Regions from separate parts of the Homo sapiens genome. Here region 1 is linked to region 2. Evidence: promoter capture Hi-C in human tissues and cell types (Jung and others, 2019). All regions are on one chromosome and are shown on one strand. The core of a region is centred on a gene start or on the middle of the fragment in contact, and the rest is flanking DNA. Distances in the headings are between cores, read along the strand shown. Region 1 overlaps GRB10 (growth factor receptor bound protein 10). Region 2 holds the start of DDC (dopa decarboxylase).

The links. Contacts are between HindIII fragments. The study calls those that stand out against the background at their distance.
Region 1: a contact is called between a fragment that was not itself captured here and the fragment with the promoter of DDC in region 2, in 2 of the 25 tissues and cell types used here (liver and thymus).

What each region holds. Positions count from the first base shown.
Region 1 is chr7:50,670,994-50,677,444 of GRCh38, reverse strand. GRB10 (growth factor receptor bound protein 10) reads left to right here. Exons shown (of 19, transcript NM_001350814.2): 6 at 2,787-3,009. Among named protein-coding and RNA genes, the nearest start is that of GRB10, 110 kb to the left of the region's middle. The HindIII fragment of the contact is 3,425 bases long and covers 1-3,281 here.
Region 2 is chr7:50,564,155-50,570,868 of GRCh38, reverse strand. DDC (dopa decarboxylase) reads left to right here and starts at 5,464. Exons shown (of 15, transcript NM_001082971.2): 1 at 5,464-5,584. RefSeq lists an enhancer at 76-601. The HindIII fragment of the contact is 6,956 bases long and covers 1,481-6,714 here.

The DNA of each region.
Region 1 (6,451 bases), core at 320-2,819, 110 kb before region 2:
GGCTCTCCTCTCCCTGAGGCCACAAGCCTTCTGGGCCTCGGGTAGCTCAGGCAGGTACATGCCTGCCCCTCCAGGGGTCCTGATTTTTTGCCAACCAACTCTTCCCCACCCCACCTCACCCCAGCTATGAGCAAGAGTTCGCCTGCTGACTCTGAGTGTTCTTCCTTGTGATTAATTATTGATTATGCAGTAATTATTAATTATTGATTCAGCACTTTGTCCTTTTAATATCTGGCCAGGATTAATATTTGACCACTCACAACCTGAACCATGGCAACATCTCTCTTCTTCCCTCCTTCCACACAGATCCTGGGCACACAGGGCCCTGCTTGCTGCGTCTCAGCTGCTGATTTCACCCAGTCCGCATCTTCGGATCCATCTGACCCCTGTTTTTCTAAGGCAACCTTCCTCTTCCAGCCTGATGCTCCCCAGCCCCTGCCCTCTCCCCTGGCCCTGGTTTGAATGTGGCCTCTGTTCTTCCAGCAAGGGCTGTGCTGGCCAGGCCTCAGTGATCTCATCGCTGCCATTTCAGCAGCCTCCCTTCTGTCCTCACCCCTCCCTTCTATCTGTCTGTCTTCACCAGGATCTTGAGCGTGATCTGGCTAAACCCTGCTCCTACTGTCCCACCCACTCCAGAAGCCCAAGCACTACCCCCGGGGGTGACCCTGCCCACTCCATACCCCCTCTGCACTACCGTGGTTGCCCAGGACTTCCCTCCCTCATTGTTGTTGTTTTGTTTCCTTATGTCTTGTCTTGTTATGCCCTTTAGCCTTGAGAGATGAGGGGAGCCCTTTAAAACAAAGGCCTTCCTAACCAGAGGGCAGAGTGCCCCTCTGAAGCTTCTGTGAGGAGCACACACCTGGTAGGAGAGAATGAGGGATGCAAAGCTTATTTTCAATACCGCTTATGTGACCTTGGGCAGGTGATTTAATTCTTCCAGGCCTATTTCCTCAGCTGTTAAGCCAGGTTAATAACGATCACTTTTTGTTATTTTGTAAGAAATAGATGAAATAGGGCTAATAAATAACATCTTCCTGTTTACTGTGTGCCAAGCTGTGTTATAAAGCAGATAATAACTAACCTAGTCCTTACAACCCCCCCCCCCCCCCGGTGGGGTGGACACTATTGCTAAGCTCATGTTAGAGTTGAGGACTCTTAAGAAATAGGAAGCCCACGTCCTGGGCCCTGGGCCCAGAGCTACTAGGAGCAGGGCAGGGTGAGCAAGTTTGCAAGTGCCGGTCTCTGCTTTCCTTCCTACCAATGTAGCCTTTGGTAGGAAGAGGGTCTTGCTGTCTGTGACCCTGTGTGTTAAGTGGGTGTAACTTGCAGCTATTCTGGGAGCAGAAGAGAGGACGAATTATGTGAGCTTCCATCATTATTTGCCATGATGTCAAAAAGCGAAAAATCTAAAAATGCAGAAGAAAGGAGTCAATATTATTAGAATGTATTGGGTTACACGTACAAAACTCACTCAAATTAGCTTAAGCACAACAACAACAAAATTATTGTATGGATGCAAGAATGTTTTACCAATCTTCCCTGAGCAGGAGTGCAGCCAGGCCTTAGGAAGCACCGGAAGCTGCACAGCCCTAGCTCCTGGCTCCCTTTCCCCGTCCCACCCCAACCCCTCCCCATCTCCATGTGCTGGGTTGTAGCCCTAGGTCTCTGTTTCTCTGGAGAAACAGACCCATTAAATAGGCTGTATACAGAGAGAGACACATGTGTTTTAGGAATTGGCTCATGACACTGTGGAGGCTAGCAAGTCCAAAATCTGCAGGGCAGGCTGGCAGGCTGGACATCCAGGGAAGGGTTGCAGCTCAGGTCTGGAGGCAGAATTCCATCTTTCCCCTTGGAGGCCGGTCTTTTTCTTCTATTCAGGTCTTCAGGTGATGGGCTGAGGCACTCTCACATGAGAGAGAACAATCTGCTTTACTCAAAGTCTGTGGTTTAAATGTTAATTACATCTAAAAAATACTTTCACAGCATCTAGTCTAGTGTTTAGCTAAAACCTGGCACCATGGCCCAGCCAAGTTGGCACATAAAACCAACCATCACTGTCTCTGCGTGCTCATTCCTCCCTTTCTACAGTGCGTTTTCCGCCGCTCTCTCTCTCACTTACTCTCTGTGCCATTGTGGCTTCTCTCTCTGCATCTGCCCCATGCCTTCCTCTGTGAAGATGGGCTTCCTTCTGCACTCTGGCCAATCGAGAGGATGGGTGGGCACCCGAAGCCCTCAGGCATGTGTTGTAGTAGCAGCCACACACAAACCCCTGCCACAGTGTCAGCCCCTACTTAACCTTTCTGGGCTGGAACCAGTGTCAGTGTTGGGTGCTGCTCTGTTTCTGTCTCTTGTTTCACTTCTGGAATCCCAGGGAAGGGAGAGTCCTGATCCTGGGAGACACCTGTGATTCAGTCAGCTGAGTCCAGGCCAGTGGGGTCGTGCTATGCAGCTGTGGCTGTGTGCGGCCTACCGGAGGGGGTGGGGAGGAGAGAAGGGGGTGCTGAAGGGAGCTGAGCAGATGCTCTGAATGGCTTCTCCCTGGAGACAGGTAGAAATGCAGCCCAGCTCTAATGATTGAATTGTCTCTGGAATGTCAGTCATGATGAATACATGTAATATGCATGCTTCCATACAGTCATACTTGTCTTGGTGTTTCCCCTCTACCCCTTCCATAATATTTGAAAAATAGGATTGAGGTTTGGAACCTGATCACCAAGATGTACATTTGGGTTTGATTGCTCTCCATTGTTAAAGTTTCTTTTTTGCTCTTGCCTTTTTCTGTGCAGAGGATGATGTGGACCTGGAAGCCCTGGTGAACGATATGAATGCATCCCTGGAGAGCCTGTACTCGGCCTGCAGCATGCAGTCAGACACGGTGCCCCTCCTGCAGAATGGCCAGCATGCCCGCAGCCAGCCTCGGGCTTCAGGCCCTCCTCGGTCCATCCAGCCACAGGTGTCCCCGAGGCAGAGGGTGCAGCGCTCCCAGCCTGTGCACATCCTCGCTGTCAGGTAGGTCCAGGCCTTATGGGCAGAGCCTTCTCCAAGGATGAGAGCTGTCGGCAGGGACACTGCTCTCTGTGAGTTAAATGGTGTTGGGGGGAATAGTGTTGGTCTTGCAAAGTCAAGAGGCAGATACATTGCTTTGATGGGATAACGGATACACTGAGTGTGTGCAGTGTGCCGCCCTTGGGTTGAACTTTGTAGCCAGTTCAATTCCAGTAGTACCTTTTATTGAGTGCCTGCTATGTGCAAGGCACTGTGCTAGGTAGAGGGATATGCAGGAAAACCACCAGAGGAAAAATCTCTGGAAAGATTGGAAGAACAGCCATGGAGCTGATTGCATGCCCCAAGTCCTCACTACCCAGAGTAGGGACGGGAGGCTAGCAGCTACAGCACCCCCTGGAGCTTGTCGTGCAACCCCAGACCTCCCTCAGAGTTGCATTTTGCCACATTCCTCTGCTAATTCAGGGGTAGGCACATCTCTGTGGAAACAGGGAGGCTGGAGGGAGGAACGTGCTGGGGACGTTGAGGGAGGTTCCTGGGAGGTAGGATTTCTGAACGGATGTCAAAGGGTGATAGGAGCTCAGATAGATGGAGGCAGAGGTTTTGTGAGCAGAAGAGATGATGCAGATGGGGGCCGGTGCTGAAGCACTTTGTGTGCCTTTTTCAGGAGCCACGTGAGAAAGAGTTCTGGACAGGCGTGTGAAGGGGCTGGGTTTGGGTTTTGACACCAGCATTCTGGTTGCCAGGGGTCGTGGGGGCAGTGGTAGAGGGCAGCAGGGTTGGCAGAGCATGGCCGGTTTGGAAGTGGTCTCAGGAGCCCCCGGATGGGAGATGATTGTGCGCTGCCTGAGGATGAAGAAGGAGGGGGGATTTGAGCACGTTGCTGAGGAGGAGCAGCTGCGTTTTGCCAGCACTTGAATTTTGCCAGGGCTGTGAGGAGACAGAGAGTGTGTGGAGGGTGACTTGGATTTTGTCTCGAGTGCCTGGGAGGAGGGTGTCTAGAGAATGGTCATGTCGAAGGTGAAGGTGCTGAGAGTACCTTAGACATTCTGAATGAAGATCTTTGTAGAATCAAGCTGAGAGCCAGGGGCAGCCCTCAAGGATCCGCCTGTCTGCCCTGTCGCAGTCGGGATGGCGTGGGGCTCCGTGGGACCCTGCGTGCCTCTCTGGGCCTTTGCGGAGGATGTACAGCCATCTCTGCTGGGACTGCCCCTTGCCCTCACTGGCCTCTGTCAGGATGGGGTTCTGGTGCCTTCTGTCTCAGCACCCCATCTTCCGGGGAGCTCTGTTCATTTCCTGGGCTCTTCTTGCTTCTAGAAACTTCTGAGAGTTTTCTTTGTGGTCTGACATCTTGGGTCTTCCGCAGCCCAGATAATCACCTTGCCCCAGGTGGCAGCTGTTTCTTACGGAGGGGAGAGGGTGCAGCGGCCCTGGCGCCCGTGGTCAGCTGCCTCCCCAGCTTCCCACCCCGGCTTCCCCTCCGACTTCTCACTTTTTGTCATATTCATTGATGCTGAATGATGCCTGTCCCAGGGTTTGTTCAACTTTGCTCTTTGAAGCGTGACCCCTTGTACTTAGCTCCTGAGGAGTTAAGTCTGGTGGGAGAGCTGTTTTTCTCTTGGGAGCATCTCTTGGGAGCATCACAGTAGCCTTGGGGAGTGCCTGGGAATATGGAGGTGCAGTTGCATGGCGAAGGTGCCCGAGGGTGGGCTGGAAAGCCAGAAGGCCTGCCTCCCTGCTGGAGTAGTTGCCCAGGACCCTTGAACCTCGAGTTCTGGCTGAACTCGCCCATATGTGCCCCGGGACTACCTGCGCTAAGTCCCTGGGATGGAGGGGCAGGCTTGCTCTGTGGGACAGCAAAGCCCTCTCCCTACAGGGTCACAGGTGCTGTTCCTTGGGCCCAATGTCTTCTCTCTGGTGTCCTCTCAGATAAGTAGTTTTGTTTCTTACTTTCAGGTGGATTAAAAAAAAATGTGGAGATCAATCTGGAATCACCAAAGATTATTTTGTGAAGTGAGGCCATTTGCTGAGTGCTTACTGTGTGCAGATGCTGATGAGCTCCTCCTTGTTATCAGTGCCCTCGGAGGGAGGCAGTGTGGGTTACCCTCGCTTCCCAGCTGAGGAAACCGTGGCACAGCGGGGCGGTAACTGGGCTCACCACATCAGGTGGGAAGTGGCCATGGAGCAGGCTGCTGGGTACCAGAGGTCACGGAGCATGGTCCACGCTGCAGAGGAACTTACCGGGGGCTGCCATGCAACCCGAAGGGAGCTGGGGGGCAGGCAGGGTATGGGCAGAGGAGACACTTGGGAAGGGCAAGAAGGCTTTGCACATAGGAAAGCCGATGGGTGAGCCGATTCTGTACAGAGAAGGAACCCAGGCTTTTGAGAGTGCAAGGGCCACGCATGTGTTCTAGACAAACACAAGTGAGCCAAGGCACAGAGAAGAAGGACCTCGCCCCTCAGCTCTGCAGTTCCTGCCACCATCCCTGACATCCCTAAATCTCAGCACCCCTCTCCATAGTCACTGTCCCTTCTATTGTGAGCCTCTTTGGTGGGGATTTTTTGTCTTTGTGTGATATCCCTTAGTCTTGCCTTAGGCGATGTCTCTGAGCCGCTTTAAAGTCAACACAGGACTTTTTAAAATGCTCAAAACAACCCAATAAATAGAGAAGCTTTTGTGGACACTAAAACGTCAGATTATCTTTTTGGGGTGAAGTCACTGGCTAGAAGCCGTGGATGGGAAAGTGGCACTGGCCACCCGTTTTATCCATCTCCTCCTGTATGACAATGGCCAGACGTTTCAGTTGGACGCCTTGCCAAGGCTGAAGCTGTTATGGGAAGAGTGGGATTTGTTCACAGTAAAAATAAACTTTATGGCATGTCATCAAACCATTATAGGAACGGCTTTCCTGTATTTCGCAGCACTGATTCCCTTCATGCCATGTGAGTTCTCGTAATTTTAAATCCATGCATCATTTGCTGGTCTACGTGGGATAGTTAGCTGGATCTTCCTTTAAAAAATAGGGAAAGTTGGTAAAAGAGAAAAAGTAATACAGTCACAAAATGTGTTTCTGTAGTGGCAAATCTCCTGGGAAAGCTAACGGATTGTTGATTTTGTGAAATCGTAAAAATTGTCAAAAAAATTACTTGAGGACACAGCCTATGATGGGGGTTTCTGAGGTATGTTTAAACATGGGGAGGGATTGGAAATGCCGAGTGAAGATAATGTGAGGTTTGCTCCCCTCTCCTTGAAGGTAGGAGGCTGCAGACAGGGCCGCGTGGCCTCAGGAAGGGTGGAGGAGGCTGTGTGTCCAGGAGTGCCCTGGAGGTGTGGGCCAGAAGTTACTCTACAGAGGGGAGGTGCCAGACACTTGACATTCGCTTTGACTTTGAACTTGATTTCTCTGCTGTTCACAGTTGCTTCTGATTCGTCATACTGTGTGTGTGT
Region 2 (6,714 bases), core at 4,215-6,714:
CCCTAAAACTTAAAGTATAATAAAAAAAAAAGAGAGACATTTTAAAGCTGGGTGTCCGGAAGCGACATCACATGTCGGCAGGTTCCATGATGCCCCCTGAGCCGTAAAACCAGCAAGTTTTTATTAGCAATTTTCAAAGGAGAGGGAGTGTACGAATAGGGTGTGGGTCACAAAAATCACATGCTTCATAGGGCAATAAAAGATCACAAGGCAGAAGGTCAAGGCGAGATCACAAGGTCAGGGAGAAACTAGAATTACTAGTGAAGTTCCATGTCCCACTGTGCATGCATTGTCATTGATAAACATCTTAACAGGGTTCAAGAGCAGAGAACTGGTCTGACTAGAATTCGCCAGGCTGGAATTTCCTAATCCTAGCAAGCCTAGGGGCACTGCAGGAGGCCAGGGCATGTTTCATCCCTTATCTGCAACTGCATAAAGCAGACAACCCCCCCAGAGCAGCCATTTTAGAGGCCCCCCTGGGAATGCATTCTTTTCCCAGGGCTGTTAATTATCAATATTCCTTACCAGGGAAAGAATTCAGTGATATTTCTCTTACCCATTTTCGGTAATAAGAGAAATATGGCTCCGTCCTGCCTGGCTCCCAGGCAGTCAGACCTAATGGTTATCTCCCTTGTTCCCGAACATTGCTGTTATCCTGTTCTTTTTTCAAGGTGCCCAGATTTCATATTGTTCAAACACACATGCTTTACGATCAGTGTGTGCAGTTAATGCAATCATCACAGGGTCCGGAGGCAACATATATCCTCAGCTTACAAAGATGACAGGGTTAAGAGATTAAAGTGAAGATAGGCATAGGAAATTATAAGAGTAGTGATTGGGGAGGTGATAAATGTCCATGAAATCTTCCCAATTTATGTTCTTCTGTCACGGCTTCAGCAGGTCCCTCCGTTCGGGGTCCCTGACTTCCCACAACATCTTTCCCTTTCTTTTTATATAAATGTGCTATGGTGATGAAGGCTTGTTCATTCTCTCGATTTTGATGCAGGATTCTTTGACTGGTCTGGCACACTAAAGACAAGTCAATTAAACAGAGAAACCTAATTCCAAATTGCACTAGGCTGTCCCCCTGAAAAGCTGAGTCTTTTTCACTACCTGGCTAGAAGGCATATGAGAAACGGAAGCAGGAAATTCACAGAAGAAAAACTATACATGACTATGGAACATTTCAATGTAATTTTTAAAATTACATAGAAAACATAGGCATAGCTAGTTGTCCATGAGTTGCCTTGTCTAGCTTTTTGTAGTCATTGATTAATCCTCACTTTCAGATTTCACAAATCTCGACCCACTTTATTTTTATAGAATGAGATCATCTCTTGATAGAGGCCTTTGCAGTCTGATCACAACCTACAGTAAGAAATGCATTCTATATTATGACCCAGTACACATATTCCTGTACATCATTGAAAGGTTCAGAAAGCAATATTTTCATCATTAGGTGCAATGTCTCCTGTTTTATATTTTATTCTGTTCTATTGCATTTTTTAAAATGCTGGTCATGAGACCTGCAAAACCCATTCCATGACCCACCAATAGTCTGAGGCCAATGATTTGAGACTTTTGAGAGAAAAACAAACTTGGAGGACTGACACTGCCCAACTTAAAGACTTACTACAGCCAGGCGCAGTGGCTCACGCCTGTAATCCCAGCACTTCGGGAGGCCGAGGTAGGTGGATCATTTGAGGTAAGGAGTTCAAGACCAGCCTGGCAACATGGTGAAACCCCATCTCTACTAAAAATACAAAAATTAGCCAGGCGTGGTGGTACATGCCTGTAATCTCAGCTACTCGGGAGGCTGAGGCACAAAAATTGCTTGAACCTAGGAAGTGGAGGTTGCAGTGCACCGAGATAGCGCCACTGCACTCCAGCCTGGGCAACAGAGCGAGACTGTGTCTCAAATAAGTAAGTAAATTAATAAGTAAATGAATAAAAGACTTACTACAAAGCTACAGTAGTTAAGAAAGTGCTATTGGTAAAAGAATAGACAGATGAATGGAACAGAATAGAGAGCTCAGAAATAGACCCACACAAATATGGTGAAATGGTCTTTGACAAAGGAGTGAAGGCAATACAATGAAGAAAGGATAGGCTCTTTGACAAATGGTTGTGGAATAAATGGACGTCCACATGCAAAAAAAAAAAAAGAATCTAGATCTAGACCTTTACTCAAAATGGTTCATAGACTTAAAGGTAACATGCAAAACTATAAAACTCCTAGAGGATGACACAAGAGAAAATCTAGTTTAGTTTGATGATGACCTTTTAGATAAATCACCAGTTTCCTCCATTAAATACAATCTATGGAGGAAAAGGACTGATGAATTGGACTTCATTAAAATAAAAAACTTCTACGCTGGAAGAAAAGAAAACAGAATTGATATTCTCACCAGCTCCTAAACAAATTGGCTTTTCCAGGAAAACTCAGTTCCCCTGACACTCCTGTCTGTGGGCTTGGCCAGAGTGTGGGCATAGCAGTAGAGCTCCTCTCTCTTCACCCATGGCCTCAGCAAAGCCCCCAGTGCCCACTTTGCTCTGGCACACAGTGGTCTCAGCAGGAAGCCCCGTCTCTTCTGCTCCCAGGAGCCACACTCAGGTGCACTGTGAATCTCTTTCACAGTCACGTCTGCACCTGCAGTCTCCCTCCTGCAACATGCACACTGTTGCGACTGACTGCAGGCCACTCTGGCATCATGAGAGATGGCCGTTGCTGCTCCTGTGGAAGAGCAGACTCACCCTCTTCCAGGAACAGCCTTGGCTGCAACCCATGCTACCTTCCCCTGCCCTGGGGCATTACAAGGTCACACGAGATCAGCCTTTCTCAACCAGGGGCAATTTTGCCACCAGGAAACATGCAATGCCTGGAGACATTCTTGGTTGTCACAACTGGGGACTACTGGCACCTAATGAGTAAAAGCCGGATGCTGCTAAACATTCTATAATGCACAGGACAGCTCCCATCACAGAGAATTATACACCCTTAATGTAATAGTGCTGGGATGGTTAATGTTATGTGTCGACTGAAGTGGGCTAAGAGATGCCCAGAGGGCCAGTAAAGCAGGATTTCTGGTTGTGTTCATGAGGGTGTTTCTGGAAGAGATTGGCATTGGAATCTCCAGAAAGTAAACAAGATCCATCCTCACCAGTGTGGGCTGGTAACATCCAGTTTGTTGAGTGCCAGAATAGAACAAAAAGGTGGATGAAGGGCAAATTCTTTCTCTTCTTGAGCTGGGATATCCATCTTCTCCTGCTCTTGGGCCTTCAAACTCAGGATGAATTACACCACCAGCTTATCTAGTTCTCCGGCCTGTAGATGGAAGACTGTGGGACTTCCCAGCCTCCATAATCACATGAGCCAATTTCTACAATAAATCTCTTCTTATATTCCTATATCCATATCCTATTATTTCCAGTTTTCTGGAGAAACCTGACTGATAAAGTGCCATGGTTGGGAAATCCTGCCCTAGATTTCTTTCTTTGGTCCTCGAAGCCTCACCCCTATTCCCCATAAATCCCACACCTGCAAGAAGAAAGGAAATGTAAAAAGAGTCCCTTCTGGGAACGGATGCTGATTCCTATGTAGATTTCTCTATTGAGAGATAACTGTTGCTCAGTAGTTGGACACTACTAGTTCACTTTTTTGAGGATTTCAAAACTGAGGTCTCTCTTCTCTATGGATGTTTTTTTTCCAGTCCTATTGCTTCAAATATCATCTAAACACTTTCAACCCATAACTTTATTTCCTGTCTGGGCCTCTTTTTCTGAGCTGTACTGGACATCTCAAATCACACGATTTGTGGATATCTGAAATTTAATTCCCAAACTGAATCCTTGGTGTCCTTCACCTCCCCACACCCAATACTGGTCCACCCCAGTCTTCTTCCTCTCAGTCTATGACCGTCATCCCCTGCCCACTGGCTTCATCACTGGGTAGTCGTTCCATCCCCTTGACTCCTCCCCTTGTCCAGCAACCTCCTAACATGCACACACACACACGCACTTATGGGGAATATTAGCACGCTTCTTCATCTCAAGCCCCCCCTCCCTCCCCCAGCCCATCTCCTAGAATGGATTCACTTGAATTCACTCCTGGTTTGCAGGAAAGTGCAGAAATCCAAGGAATGTGGTGGGAATTGGTGGTCCAACTTAAAGGGTCTAACCCTTTCACCCTTATCTCCCTCTGATCCATTTTCTACCCCAGAGCCAGAGTGATCTTAAACCATAAGTAAGCTAAGGTTACTGCTTTCTAGAAACACTTCAATGCCTTCTATTACAGTTGGGGGGATACAAATTACGTAACGTGGCTTGCAAGACTCCCCCTCCCCTACTTTGAATGGTCCTTAGGAGTTGGCCTTCTGTCAGGGCCTGGGAGATGCCGAGCTTGATCCTCAGTAACTTTGCAGAGGCTGTTCCCTCTTTGGAGCCCTTCCCTCACTCTTCCCCTTACCAAGGACAATCACTTCTTCGGTTCTCAGCTCCTGTGAGACCCCAGGCGGGAGCATTTGGGTGTGCGTCATTGGAGGGCTCACTTGCCATTCTTTCTCTTTTCCCTCTTTCCTCCAATGGCTCCTGTGGAGGTTTTGAGACTCCTCAATGTCACTCTGCTTCTCTCTCCAGTTCCAGTCCTAACAATAGGAACCCTAGGTGCCCCGCCCCAGCCTGCTCCAGTCCCCTAGGATAGAGCAAGGAGAGCTCTTCCCTGCATCTAGCCTGTGACAAATGGCTCTAGTGACAGCCCTCTCTGCCTTGTTTCCAGTCCTTTAATGAGCTGCCCGCAGCCAGCCTCACTCTCACTCTGCTCTTCACACCCACTGAGCCCCACGCTTGGAGCTGCTGGGGGTCTGCCAGAAAGACCAGCTCCTAAGATCCCTGCAGGCTGTGCCTGCTCAACTTCTCAATGTGGCTTTCTCAGCCCTGCTTTGTGCTCTCATAAAATTCTATCGACTTTGGGGTTTTTTTATAAATTTGTCCAAATTCCACTCAGAGTATTGTTTCATGCATCTCAACTATGATTTTGATGGGTTTGGGGAAGGAAGGTGAGTTCCTGGGTTCTGCTGATATCTGAACCTGGAAATCTTACCCATATTGCTGAGTGCTGCACCGGGAAGTGCAGGCTTACTTTGGGGCTGCCTTCAGGGGCAGGAGGCTGTGTGCAATGCAGGCATCACCTGGTGCAGGGCTGGAACATATCAGATGACTTAATGGGCTCCAAACTTGAAATCAGGGCTGCTTAGTAAAAGATGGGATGTATGTAGAATTACATAAGAAAGATCCAAGCTTCCAGGATTTGGAATGAAACAGTCTCTTCAGAATGTGCTCTCAGGATTCCCAGAGGCGAGCTATTTCTCAAGATTTCCTTGACCTTTGTCACCATCAGGAATTAATGTTTAACTGGCACATGTGGCTGGAAATGCAAGAAGAGGGAAACGTGTGGCTTGGAGTTTCAAGAAGAGTGACTGTCTCAGTGCCGAGTGCCTCAGCAGCTTCTCCACATGCTCTTCAGTCCCCAAAGTTGGAGAATCCCATCAAGGAGAGTAGCCCTGTAAGGAATTCGAATTTCCAGCATGTAAGTCTCTGATTTTATACCTACTCAGATTGTAGTAGTGGAAAACAGCAACATGTACCTTGACTCTCTGGCCCCATGTTACTGAACATTTGCTTAAAGGTTAACTCACTTGAGGGAGCTTGTGTGGTGCTTTCTCTTCTGCTGCAGGCTGGCAGGGGTTTTTGTTCAGTGGGGGCTGTGCACTTGGTGGCTCTCCATGCACACACAGTCACTCCAGTGACACATGTTTGATAGGTGCTGGGAATGATTTCATGACTGGCTCAGTAGCAAATGCGGGCCAGATGTGATTCTATTTTTTCCATGCACCACCAGGGATGGTGTTGGGTATTTTATTCCCCCAGCCTCTGTTTCTTCTGTAAATGAGGATTTTCTTAGTATCTACCTTGTGAGGATTAAATCCCATGATTTTATGGAGGTGATTAGTAAATGTGAACTCTGCCCTTCCCTTTATAACATCTGAGGCTCCGTCAGGGCTCTCTCCTTTTGGTGTATGTTATAGTTTACTTAGAGGTCAATTTGGTGTCTACCTATGCAGTGTGATTTGAGGAGAATTAGAAGATCTTTCCCACCAACTTGCCATGCTGAGTACAATTCCCATCTGAAAACATATGCGGATAGGAATTTCTATTGGGAGAATTGTTCGGTTATCGACTTCAAGGAGTCGAAGTTCTCCTGGTTTTAAGTCTGTTGTCGGAAGTATATAAGAATCAAAGCTTAATCGATGGAAATCATTGCTCTCCATCATGCGTGAGTTAAAACCATTACTTCTGAGTGGTCAGTTTACATTGGGCTCTGTCTAGAAGGTTTGCCTTCTTCACCTCCAGTCACATCCCCATTTCACAAGTGAGCAAACAGCCAGAGGAGGGGAGGAGGATGGCATAAGATCTTGCAGCTGGCAGAGACGAAATGTGAATGTAGCCCGTTTGCACTTGGTGCTGTCGGGCAGCCAAGCAATCCAGTGTGTAGGTCCAGGGCGACAAGCGCTGCTCCCATGGCTGGGGTAAGTCCCTCCAGCATTCAGCCTTGCTCCCTGTGCTTATCTGGATGCGGTGTAGGATGAAGATGACCCTATAGAACTCTACCCTGGAAGTCCTGGCAAAGTGGATATGTGACATTTTTGAAACCAGGGA